Linked DNA regions of Homo sapiens: all the other regions are linked to region 2. Evidence: promoter capture Hi-C in human tissues and cell types (Jung and others, 2019). All regions are on one chromosome and are shown on one strand. Each heading gives the region's core, a stretch centred on a gene start or on the middle of the fragment in contact. The rest is flanking DNA. Distances are from core to core; before and after follow the strand shown.

Region 1 (3,225 bases), core at 267-2,766, 200 kb before region 2:
TTCACTGTATTAGCCAGGATGGTCTCGATCTCCTGACCTCGTGATCCTCCTGCCTCGGCCTCCCAAAGTGCTGGGATTACAGGCATGAGCCACCGCACCCAGCCTAATTTTCGTATTTTTAGTAGAGACAGAGTTTCACCATGTTGGCCAGGCTGGTCTCATACTCCTGACCTCAAACAATCCACCGTGTCCCAACGTGAGGGGGACTGCAGGCTGGCGGGGGAGCTGGGGACACTGCAGCCCAGGACCAACCTATCCCGTGCCTGGTGGGGGCTCCTGCAGGAGGGGACCCACCCACCCTGGCCCCAATATACATTTTAATAGTTATTATAACAATATGTTTAAAACGAGGCAGGGCATGGCGGCTCACACCTGCAATCCCAGCACTTTGGGAGGCAGAGGCGGGTGGATCATTTGAAGTCAGGAGTTCGAGACCAGCCTGGCCAACATGGTGAAATCCAGTCTCTACTAAAAATGCAAAAATTAGCCAGGTGTGGTGGTGGGCGCCTGTGATCCCAGCTACTCGGGAAGCTGAGGCAGGAGAATCGCTTGAGCCCGGGAGGTGGAGGTTGCAGTGAGCCGAGATTGCACCGTTGCACTCCAGCCTGGGGAACCGAGACTGCCTCAAAAAAAAAAAAGAACATAGTGACAGTTACAGTAACAGAATATGTACTTGTTGCGCCTGTTGCTTCTTCTGTGCTTCTTTTGCCTCCCTGCCTTATCCTCCTGTTTTCCCTTTGTTGCCCTTTAAATCCAGCCCCTGCTGAGACTCCCCCTCCTGCAGGAGCCACGGCGCCCCCAGCTCCCCCACCAGCCTGGAGTCCCCCTCATGTCGGGATACGGTGTCCAGAAAGAAGGGGCCCGACAGGTGAGCTCACCTGTGGCTGAAGCAGTGGGCGGCCGAGACCACCCAGCGGGCTCGCAGCAGGAAGCCTCCGCAGTGATGTTGGCCCCCGAAGCGCACGGATGCCATGTAGGGCCTGGAGTGGGGGGTCACCTCGTGGCCCCCGATGATCTGGGCCCCCCAGGAGCCTGCTGGAGGGACGGCCTGAGTCAGGGACGAGGCGGGAGGAACGGATGACGGGGCTGGGGTCAGGGCAGGGGGAGAAGTAGCGGCCAAGACAGAGACAGGGGGTGAGATTAGAGACGGAGAGACCCAGAGAGCTGGAGACAGAGCCCAGACAAGCCCCCCAGATGCGCTGGGAGGGGCTCCCGAGCCCGGGAGATCCAGGGCTGGGCTGGGCAGAGACCCCGGCCGGATTTCCATCCATTTCCAGCAGAGGCAGCCACGGGGGCTCGGCAGATGGAGCAGGTGGAGCTCTCCCCAGGGTTCTCCCGGGACTGGGGGTTCCCGGGTGTGGCCCCCGTACGGGGACTTGGCGGGGGCCTGGGTGGGGATCCCGGGGGGCTCCTCACCGGGGGGCTTCACGGGCAGCATCAGGGCGGTGGCCACAGTCAGCAGAGGACGTCCCCAGCCCCTCAACCCGAGCCCCATGGCAGACGCAGGCTGGCGTCTCCCCGCAGAGGTCTTCGGGCCGTGGCTCCCACCCTCAGCCAACGGCCGGAAAGGGGGAGCCTGGCTGTGGCCTGTGGTCGGGAGGCCCCACCAGCAACGCCTGGAGCCCAGGCGGGCGTTTCTGAGAAATCGATGGTCTCAGGTGGTGGCTGGTAATAATCATGTTGATAATAATCATTGTCCCCTAGTCCGGAAACAGGGAGAGGAGGAGACAGCTCTGGGGCTGCAAGTGACCTCGGGAAGGCAATTGACCCTTCTGTGCCTCAGTTTACCCAGCCTCCACGTGGCCCAGCATGTGTGGGGAGCTTTCCGAGGAACCGAGGTCACAGCGGCACTCGAGACCCGCAGCTCGCCTCCGGCCCCCACCCCGCAAACCCCAGTCTTCCCATCTCCAAACCCAGGGCCGACCTCAGGGCTGTGGGGACAGCGAGGAAGGCCGGTCTCCTGGGAAGCTCTGATGATTTCTGCCTTTATTTTATTTTATTTTTATAGGTGGGGTTTTGCTATGTTGCCCAGGCTGGTCTCGAACTCCTGGGCTCCAGCGATCCTCCCTCCTCGGCCTTCCAAAGTGCTGAGATCACAGAAGACAGCCACTGCACCTGGCAGATTTCTGCCTTTATTCAGCAGTTATTGAGTGCCTAGTGTATACCAGACCTCATGCTAGGAGGTGAGGATGAGGCAGTGACCGCACCCCAGCCTGTAGCACTGACGTTCTGTGGGATCCGGAGTCCAGTGGGACATGGCTGTACATGGGGGTCTTCACCTTTTTTTTCTTTTCTTTTTTTTTTTGAGATGGAGTCTTGCTCTTGTTGCCCAGGCTAGAGTGGAATGGCACCATCTCGGCTCACCGCAACCTCTACCTCCCGGGTTCGAGTGATTCTCGTTCCTCAGCCTCCCGAGTAACTGGAACTACAGGCGCCCGCCACCACAGCCGGCTAATTTTGTTTCTGTATTTTTAGTAGAGACGGGGTTTCACCATATTAGCCAGGATGGTCTCGATCTCCTGACCTCATGATCCGCCCGCCTCGGCCTCCCAAAGTGCTGGGATTACAGGCATGAGCCACGGTGCCCGGCCTTTTTTTTTTTTTTTTTTTTTTTGAGAAGGAATCTTGCTCTTGTTGCCCAGGCTAGAGTGCAGTGGCGCGATCTTGGCTCACCGCAACCTCTGTCTCCTGAGTTCAAGGGATTCTCCTTCCTCAGCCTCCTGAGTAACTGGGATTACAGGTGCCCACCACCACGCCCCGCTAAATTTGTGTGTTTAGTAGAGACGGAGTTTCTCCATGTTGGTCAGGCTGGTCTCGAACTCCCGACCTCAGGTGATCCACCTGCCTCAGCCTCCCAAAGTGCTGGGATGACAGGCCTGAGCCACCGCGCCCAGCCCGGCAGGTCTTCACCTTTCAGTGGGAGCGTTCTTAGTGGCAAAGTTCAGGTCGTAAATTGCAGCTCACACAGCCGGGTGATGGCGTTCACGGCAGTGGCTAGCAGTGGGGTGCTCGTCAGCGCTTAATAATGAACAGGCTGGGGCCGGGTGCAGTGGCTCACGCCTATAATCCTAGCACTTTGGGAGGCCGAGGCAGGTGGATCACCTGAGGTCAGGAGTTCAAGACCAGCCTGGCCAACATAGTGAAACCCCGTCTCTACTTAAAGTACCAAAATTAGTCAGGCGTGGTGGCAGGTGCCTGTAATCCCAGCTACTTGGGAGGCTGAGG
Region 2 (3,570 bases), core at 202-2,701:
CTGACTGACAGGGAACACCTGTGGCCGAGGCGGGGGCTGAGTGTGACGGGGAACACCTGTGGCCGAGGCGGGGCTGAGTGTGACGGGGAACACCTGTGGCCGAGGCGGGGCTGAGTGTGACGGGGAACACCTGTGGCCGAGGCGGGGGCTGAGTGTGACGGGGAACACCTGTGGCCGAGGCGGGGCTGAGTGTGATGGGGAACACCTGTGGCCGAGCCGGGGGCTGAGTGTGACGGGGAACACCTGTGGCCGAGGCGGGGCTGAGTGTGACGGGGAACACCTGTGGCCGAGGCGGGGCTGAGTGTGTTGGGGAACACCTGTGGCCGAGGCGGGGGCTGAGTGTCACAGGGAACAGAGGGGGCACCTCCTCGAGGCTTTCTAAGCGCCTGGCATCCAGACGGGCTGTTTCGCTTCGCAAAGGCAAAAGCCCAGGGAGCCTGGAATCACCCGCAACCAGGTTCTCCTCAAACCCTAACCCCGGCTCCCTACTTCTTCAGGGCCTGCCCCAGACCCCCAAGGCTCCGCCACAAGCCTCTAAAAGTCTTTCAGCCCCACCCCTGACCCCCTTTGCTTCCCACACTTCATTTCACCCCTTGAGCCCACGGCCTCACCCTAAATTCTCAGGCTTCACCGTAGGGGTCCCATGTACTCTCCAGGTCCAGCCTCCAACGCCCTTAGCTCTCCAGGCCCAACCCCTAAAACTCCCCAGTCCCCAGACTCCACCCCGGGGACCCCACGTACTCTCCAGGCCCTTCCCCTATTGCCCCCAAATACGAGGCTTCATCCCAGGGACCCCATAGCCTCTTCAGGCCCCGCCCCTATAACCCCCAATCTCCAGGGTCCATCCCAGGGACCCCCTACCCTCTCCAGACCCCTATAACTCCGCAGTCCCCAGTCTCCACCCTAGGGACCCTATTCCCTCTCCAGGCCCCGCACCGATAACCCCGCAGTCTCCAGGCCCTGCCTCTACAGCCCCCCAGTCCCCAGGCTCCACCCCGGCGACCCCAAACCCACTCCAGGCCCCGCCCCCGAAGTCCCACCAAGCGCCTTCAGCCTCGCCCCAAACTCTCCTTAGGCCCCGCCCCGAACCCAGCCCCGCGGGCCTCAGGCCTCCCCCAGGTTTCCGCCGCAAACCCTGAGCCCCGAGCCCCGCGCCCCGCGCCCCGCGCCCCGCGCCCCGCGCCCCGCGCCCCGCGCCCCGCGCCCCAGGCCGCCTACCCAGCAGCCTTTGCTCCCGGCCACGCCCCCGACCCCGCAGGCCCCGCCACGGCTGCGCCGCGTTCCCTCGGGTCCGTGGACACGGTCAGGGGTCCGTCCGCCCTCGCCGGGCCCCCGCAGCCCCGCACTCACCTGGTCGGCCCGTGCGCCAAGCTCAGCGGGCGTCCGCGGTGCGATCTTCCCTAGCGCCTCGGGTCTGGCGCCGCCATCTTCCTCGGTAACAACCAGTCGCCTGAGGCGTGGGGCCGCCTCCCAAAGACTTCTGGGAGGGCGGTGCGGCTCAGGCTCTGCCCCGCCTCCGGGGCTATTTGCATACGACCATTTCCAGTAATTCCCAGCAGCCACCGTAGCTATATTTGGTAGAACAACGAGCACTTTCTCAACTCCAGTCAATAACTACGTTAGTTGCATTACACATTGGGCTAATATAAATAGAGGTTAAATCTCTAGGTCATTTAAGAGAAGTCGGCCTATGTGTACAGACATTTGTTCCAGGGGCTTTAAATAGCTGGTGGTGGAACTCAATATTCGTGCTCGCTTCGGCAGCACATATACTAAAATTGGAACGATACAGAGAAGATTAGCATGGCCCCTGCGCAAGGATGACACGCAAATTCGTGAAGCGTTCCATATTTTTTTTTTTTTTTCCATTTTCCCTCCCAGAAACGGAATCTTGCTCTGTTGCCCAGGCTGGAATGCAATGGCGCGATCTTAGCTTGTTGCAACCTCCGCCTCCCGGGTTGAAGCGATTCTCCTGCCTCAGCCTCCCGAGTAGCTGGGATTATAAACATGCGCCACCACGCCCGGCTAATTTTTGTATTTTGGTAGAGACGGGGTTTCGCCATGTTGGCCAGGGTGGTCTCTATCTACTGACCTCCTGATCCGCCCGCCTCGGCCTCCCAGAGTACTGGGATTACAGGTGTGAGCCACCGCGCCCGGCCTTTCTTCCATTTTCTAATGTCCAAGAGTGGGGAAACTGTAAGCGAAGTCACCGACCCCGTTGAGTATTCCTACTTCCAACCCTATTCCCACCTCCTCCTCCAAAAGCCAGTTTAATGCAATGGATGTGGTGCTCTTCTATTTTTATTTTTATTTTTTTTGAGACAGGGTCTCGCTCTGTGGCCCAGGCTGGAGTGCAGTAGCGCGATCTCAGCTCACTGCAACCTCCGCCTTCCAGGCTCAAGCGATTCTCCTGCCTCAGCCTCCCGAGTAGCTGGGACTACAGGCGCGCACCACCATGCCCAACAAATTCTTGTATTTTTAGTAGAGACGGAGTTTCACCATGTTGGCCAGGATGGTCTCAGTCTCTTGACCTGGTGATCTGCCTGCCTCAGCCTCCCAAAGTGCTGGGATTACAGGCGTGAGCCACCGCGCCCAGCCTGTTTTTTCAAAATTTTAATAGCGATGGGGTCTCACTATGTTGCCCAGGCTGATTTCAAACTCCAGGCCTCAAGCCCTCCTTCCACCCCGGCCTCCCAAAGTGCTGGGATTATAGGCGTGAGCCACCGCGGCCTCACTGCATGATTTTTGCAAGAATTCTGCAAATATAAAACTGTTCTAAAATTACAGGTTAACAATGGCCCAAATATCAGAGTGTTTTTTCTGGATCAGGGTTCAGTTCTCCAAGAGGGCCACGCAGTGACCTTACAGAAAATCCCCATTCCCAGGCAGCAGGTAGGGATTTAACGTTCTTAGCGGCCCGGGTGTGGTGGCACACACCTGTAATCCCAGTACTTTGGGAGGCCAAGGTCTGAGGACAGCTTGAGTTTGAGACCAGCCTGGGAAACATAGCCAGACCCCGTCTCTACAAAAAAAAATTAAAAATTAGCAGGGTTGGGGAGGGAGGGGCGCTGGGCAAGGTGGTTCAGGCCTGTAATCCCTGAACTTTGGGAGGCTGAGGCACGCAGATCACCTGAGAACAGGAGTTCGAGACTAGCCTGGCCAACATGTTGAAACCACATCTCTACTAAAAATACAAAAATATTAGCTGGGCATGGTGACACATGCCTGTAGTCCTAGCTACTCTAGAGGTTGAGGCAGGAGAATCACTTGAACCCAAGAGGTGGAGGTTGCAGTGAGCTGAGATCGCGCCACTGCACTCCAGCCTGGGGGACAGAGCAAGACTCTGTCTCAAAATAAATAAATAAATAAATAAAATAGCTGGGTGGGGTGATGCACACCTGTAGGCCCAGTTACTCAGGAGGCAAAAGTGGGAGGATCACTTCAGTCTGGGAGGTCAAGGCTGCAGTGAGCTGGGATTGTACCTCTGCACTCCAGCCAGGGCAACAGAGCCAGACCCTGTCTAAAAAAAAAAAAAAAAAAAAAAGAGAGGTTGAATTCCTAACTCCCACT
Region 3 (3,269 bases), core at 591-3,090, 220 kb before region 2:
GGAATGCCAGAGGCCAAGGCCAGGTCGAGACGGCGGGGTGTCCCCCGTCAGTGAGAACACAGGGTCCTGTGCCTGCCCCACTCCCCAAGCCGGGGAGATTCCCGGGGGAAATGCCAGAGGCCAAGGCCAGGTCGAGACGGCGGGGTGTCCCCCCTCAGTGAGAACACAGGGTCCCGTCCCTGCCCTGCTCCCCAAGCCGGGGAGATTCCCGGGGGAAATGCCAGAGGCCAAGGCCAGGTCGAGACGGCGGGGTGTCCCCCCTCAGTGAGAATACAGGGTCCCGTCCCTGCCCTGCTCCCCAAGCCGGGGAGATTCCCGGGGGAAATGCCAGAGGCCAAGGCCAGGTCAAGACGGCGGGGTGTCCCCCCTCAGTGCCACTAAGGCAGAACTTGGCCCCTGGCCACTGGCTGCTGGGGGACACAGGCTGGGCAGCTAAGGTGGAGGAAAGGGTACAGGTGTGTCTTCTGTGGGCACAGATCTCACTCAGGCCAGAGAAGGGGCTGTGCCGTGGGGCTGCTGGACACGTCCGTTTCCACCTGCGGGGTGGGCAATGCCGGCACAGCGAGTGGCCAGACACAGGCATGCCCAGCAGACACCCAACCGCTCTCCACCACCTCAACCTTCTGTATTTTCCTGAAAGCATTTACCACTCCTTGAAGTTATAGATTAATTTGTCTCTGCATTTTGTTGTCCAAACCAGGAGCTCGGTGAGGGTGTGATGGGGTCTGCCTTGGTCACCGTGGCACCCCAGCACCCCGCAGGGTCCCTCTGGCCAAAAGAGATGTTCACTGATGCCCTAGAAGCAGGAACAGAGGGGCTCCCCTGCGCTCGCCAAGGGCGCCTGACAAATCTGGAGGCCCCCATGACAGAATCAGCTCCAGAGTAGGAAATGTGTCTGGCTGCACGAAAGCCCCCTCGGGCGCAGCGCCTCCAGGCCCACGCAGATGTCGCTGTCATACATTGTTGGAAACGCCTCTGCTGGAAACAGTGTTTGCTGAATCTTGGAGGGAGAGGAAAAAACCTAGTAAACATTCTTGTTGAGGTGATCTGGGGGAATGTCTGCAAAGGCTTGGAGGGCTGATGGGGCAGAGCTGCCCAGGGGCCCAGGACAAAGGCCAGGCGTGCGCGCGCACACACACACACACACACACACACACACGCAGTGGCCTCCCTGGGGGCCGTGGCTGGGCGAGGCCTGCTGTTGTCCGAGATGCTGGAAGGAGCTGTGTCTCTGGGTCTGTCCCGGCCGCACCCCGTTCTGTCCCACACCCAACCACTCCCCACCCACAGGCCGGCTCCAGCGGCCAGGTGGACGGGTGCGCGGCCCGCGCTGTGAGCAGGGAACCATATCCAGCTGAGGTTTTGGGTGTGTGGGGCGGGTCGGGAACAAGGAGGCCGGGTTGGGGGGCTCAGACCACACTTGGACCATGAAAGTGACCACATGCAAATCACAGAAACGGGATGCAGGGATCCACAGACGTGCTCCTCTTGGGTCCCCGTTACCTCACCGCCACCCCTGAAACTGAAGACCCCCAAACCCACTTTAATTCCTGGAGACGGCCCCTCGATCCACCCAAAAGGCTGCCACCACCTCGAACCCACACCCCTGTCCCGGTTCCGCCCTGGGTCCAGCCACATCTCCCCAAATGCATTCTCTGGCTCCGGAAGGGGACCCGGGCGCTCGCCCCCAACTGCCCCCCGCAGCGGCCGGGCCCGGCGCCTGCCCACCCCGCGCGGGACACGGCCTCGCCCCCGCCACTCCCGCGCCGCGCCCCGCCCCGCGCCCCGCCCCGCCCGCGGCCCGCGGGACCTTTATAGGGAGCGCCGGCCGCGCGCTGGGAAGTCGGTGCCGCTGCCGTCTCTGCGTTCGCCATGCGTCCCGGGGCGCCAGGGCCACTCTGGCCTCTGCCCTGGGGGGCCCTGGCTTGGGCCGTGGGCTTCGTGAGCTCCATGGGCTCGGGGAACCCCGCGCCCGGTGAGTGGGGCGGCCAGAGGGGCGGGCGGGGCGGGCCACCCACGTGGGGCTGCGCGGAATGCGGCCGGGGGGACGTCGGGGGGCGCGGCGGCGGCGGCGGGGGCGAGGGCGGTGTCCGGCGCAAGCTGGAGCCGGGAAGGTCTGAAGGAGGGTCACCAAGAGGTCAGCAGAGCAGAGGTTTCTAATCACAATGACCGCTGACATTTATTGAGCGCTTAGTGTCTACCTCTCCCCTCCCTGAACCTGTGCCATCCCGATAGTGCCGGAGCTCTCTTCATCTCCGTCTTCCAGATGGGGAAACTGAGGCTCAGGGTCACACAGCCTGTAGCAGGCAAAGCCAGGGTTCTAGCCGCGACCGTCCGGGTCGGTCCTGGTGCCGAGAGGTAGTGCTGGGTGTCGGGAGCCAGGCCCTCCAGCTGGGGCTGAGAGCTTTCCCGGGTCCTGGGTAGACGGGGCATGGAGTCTCACACCTGGGACTTGCCGGGAGGTGCCAGGCAGGAGACGGCCCCACTCCTGGCCTCAGTTTCCCCTCCTATGATGGGTGCCAAGGTGCTGCGTTCCACAAGCTGGTCCCTGGCAGTGTCTGTGAACCAGCAAGCGCTCTGGGATGGGGGCTGTGGCCGTTCCTGCCCCCAGGGACGGGGGAAGAAATGGGGGGCTCTCTGGCTCCCCACCCCCCATCCCTGCAGCCCCACCCCACCCCAGCCCTGCGCCAAAGGGAGAGCAGAGCCCCCTCCCCGAAGGCCACGTCCCTGGGGAGACAGTGAGCTCATGCAAGGGGAATGTTCCCAAGTTGGAGTGAGTAAGAGGCGGGCCAGGCGGTGGGGGGGCTGCCAGGCGCGGGGCTCCGCGTGCCCTCGCCCTCGGGTGCTGTCTAGACAGAGGGCAGAGGCGGGAGAAGCGGCTCCAGGGCCTGCTGACCCTGACATGCCCAGTGCCTGGTGTTTGGTGGTGTTTGAGGGGTTGGGCAGGGTGCCAGCCCCTGGCCTGGGGGCTTGGAGGGTACGGGAAGGGACCTCCTGGGGTGGGTGGGGGTTGGTGGTGAGGCTGTGGGGGGGGGCACGTGGAGCTCAGAGGGGAGGAGACATTTCCAGGGTTCTGGAGCCAGGGTGGGGACACCCATGTGGTTTTCTGCCCCTTCTTCCTGGGTGGGGGTAGATCATTCCGTGCGTAACTACTCAGCACCACCTGCATGCATCTGTGGGCGGGCCAGAAGCTGGGTGTCAGGAGTGGCCCAGGAGAGCACCCCGTTCCCCGGCCCGCAGGTGGTGTTTGCTGGCTCCAGCAGGGCCAG

What was found. Contacts are between HindIII fragments. The study calls those that stand out against the background at their distance.
Region 1: a contact is called between the fragment with the promoter of PRSS57 here and the fragment with the promoter of MED16 in region 2, in 1 of the 25 tissues and cell types used here (dorsolateral prefrontal cortex).
Region 3: the fragment with the promoter of FSTL3 here is called in contact with the fragment with the promoter of MED16 in region 2 in 1 of the 25 tissues and cell types used here (dorsolateral prefrontal cortex).

Annotation. Positions count from the first base shown.
Region 1 is chr19:693,936-697,160 of GRCh38, forward strand. PRSS57 (serine protease 57) reads right to left here and starts at 1,517. Exons shown (of 5, transcript NM_001308209.2): 1 at 1,417-1,517; 2 at 879-1,032. The coding sequence starts at 1,495. The HindIII fragment of the contact is 19,970 bases long and covers 1-3,225 here.
Region 2 is chr19:891,736-895,305 of GRCh38, forward strand. It overlaps MED16 (mediator complex subunit 16), which reads right to left and starts at 1,452. Exons shown (of 16, transcript NM_005481.3): 1 at 1,351-1,452. RNU6-9 (RNA, U6 small nuclear 9) reads left to right here and starts at 1,749; the gene lies at 1,749-1,855. RefSeq lists silencers at 1,070-1,119, 1,170-1,439 and an enhancer at 1,580-1,729. The HindIII fragment of the contact is 37,799 bases long and covers 1-3,570 here.
Region 3 is chr19:674,552-677,820 of GRCh38, forward strand. It overlaps FSTL3 (follistatin like 3), which reads left to right and starts at 1,841. Exons shown (of 5, transcript NM_005860.3): 1 at 1,841-1,975; 2 at 3,241-3,269. The coding sequence starts at 1,873. The HindIII fragment of the contact is 14,894 bases long and covers 1-3,269 here.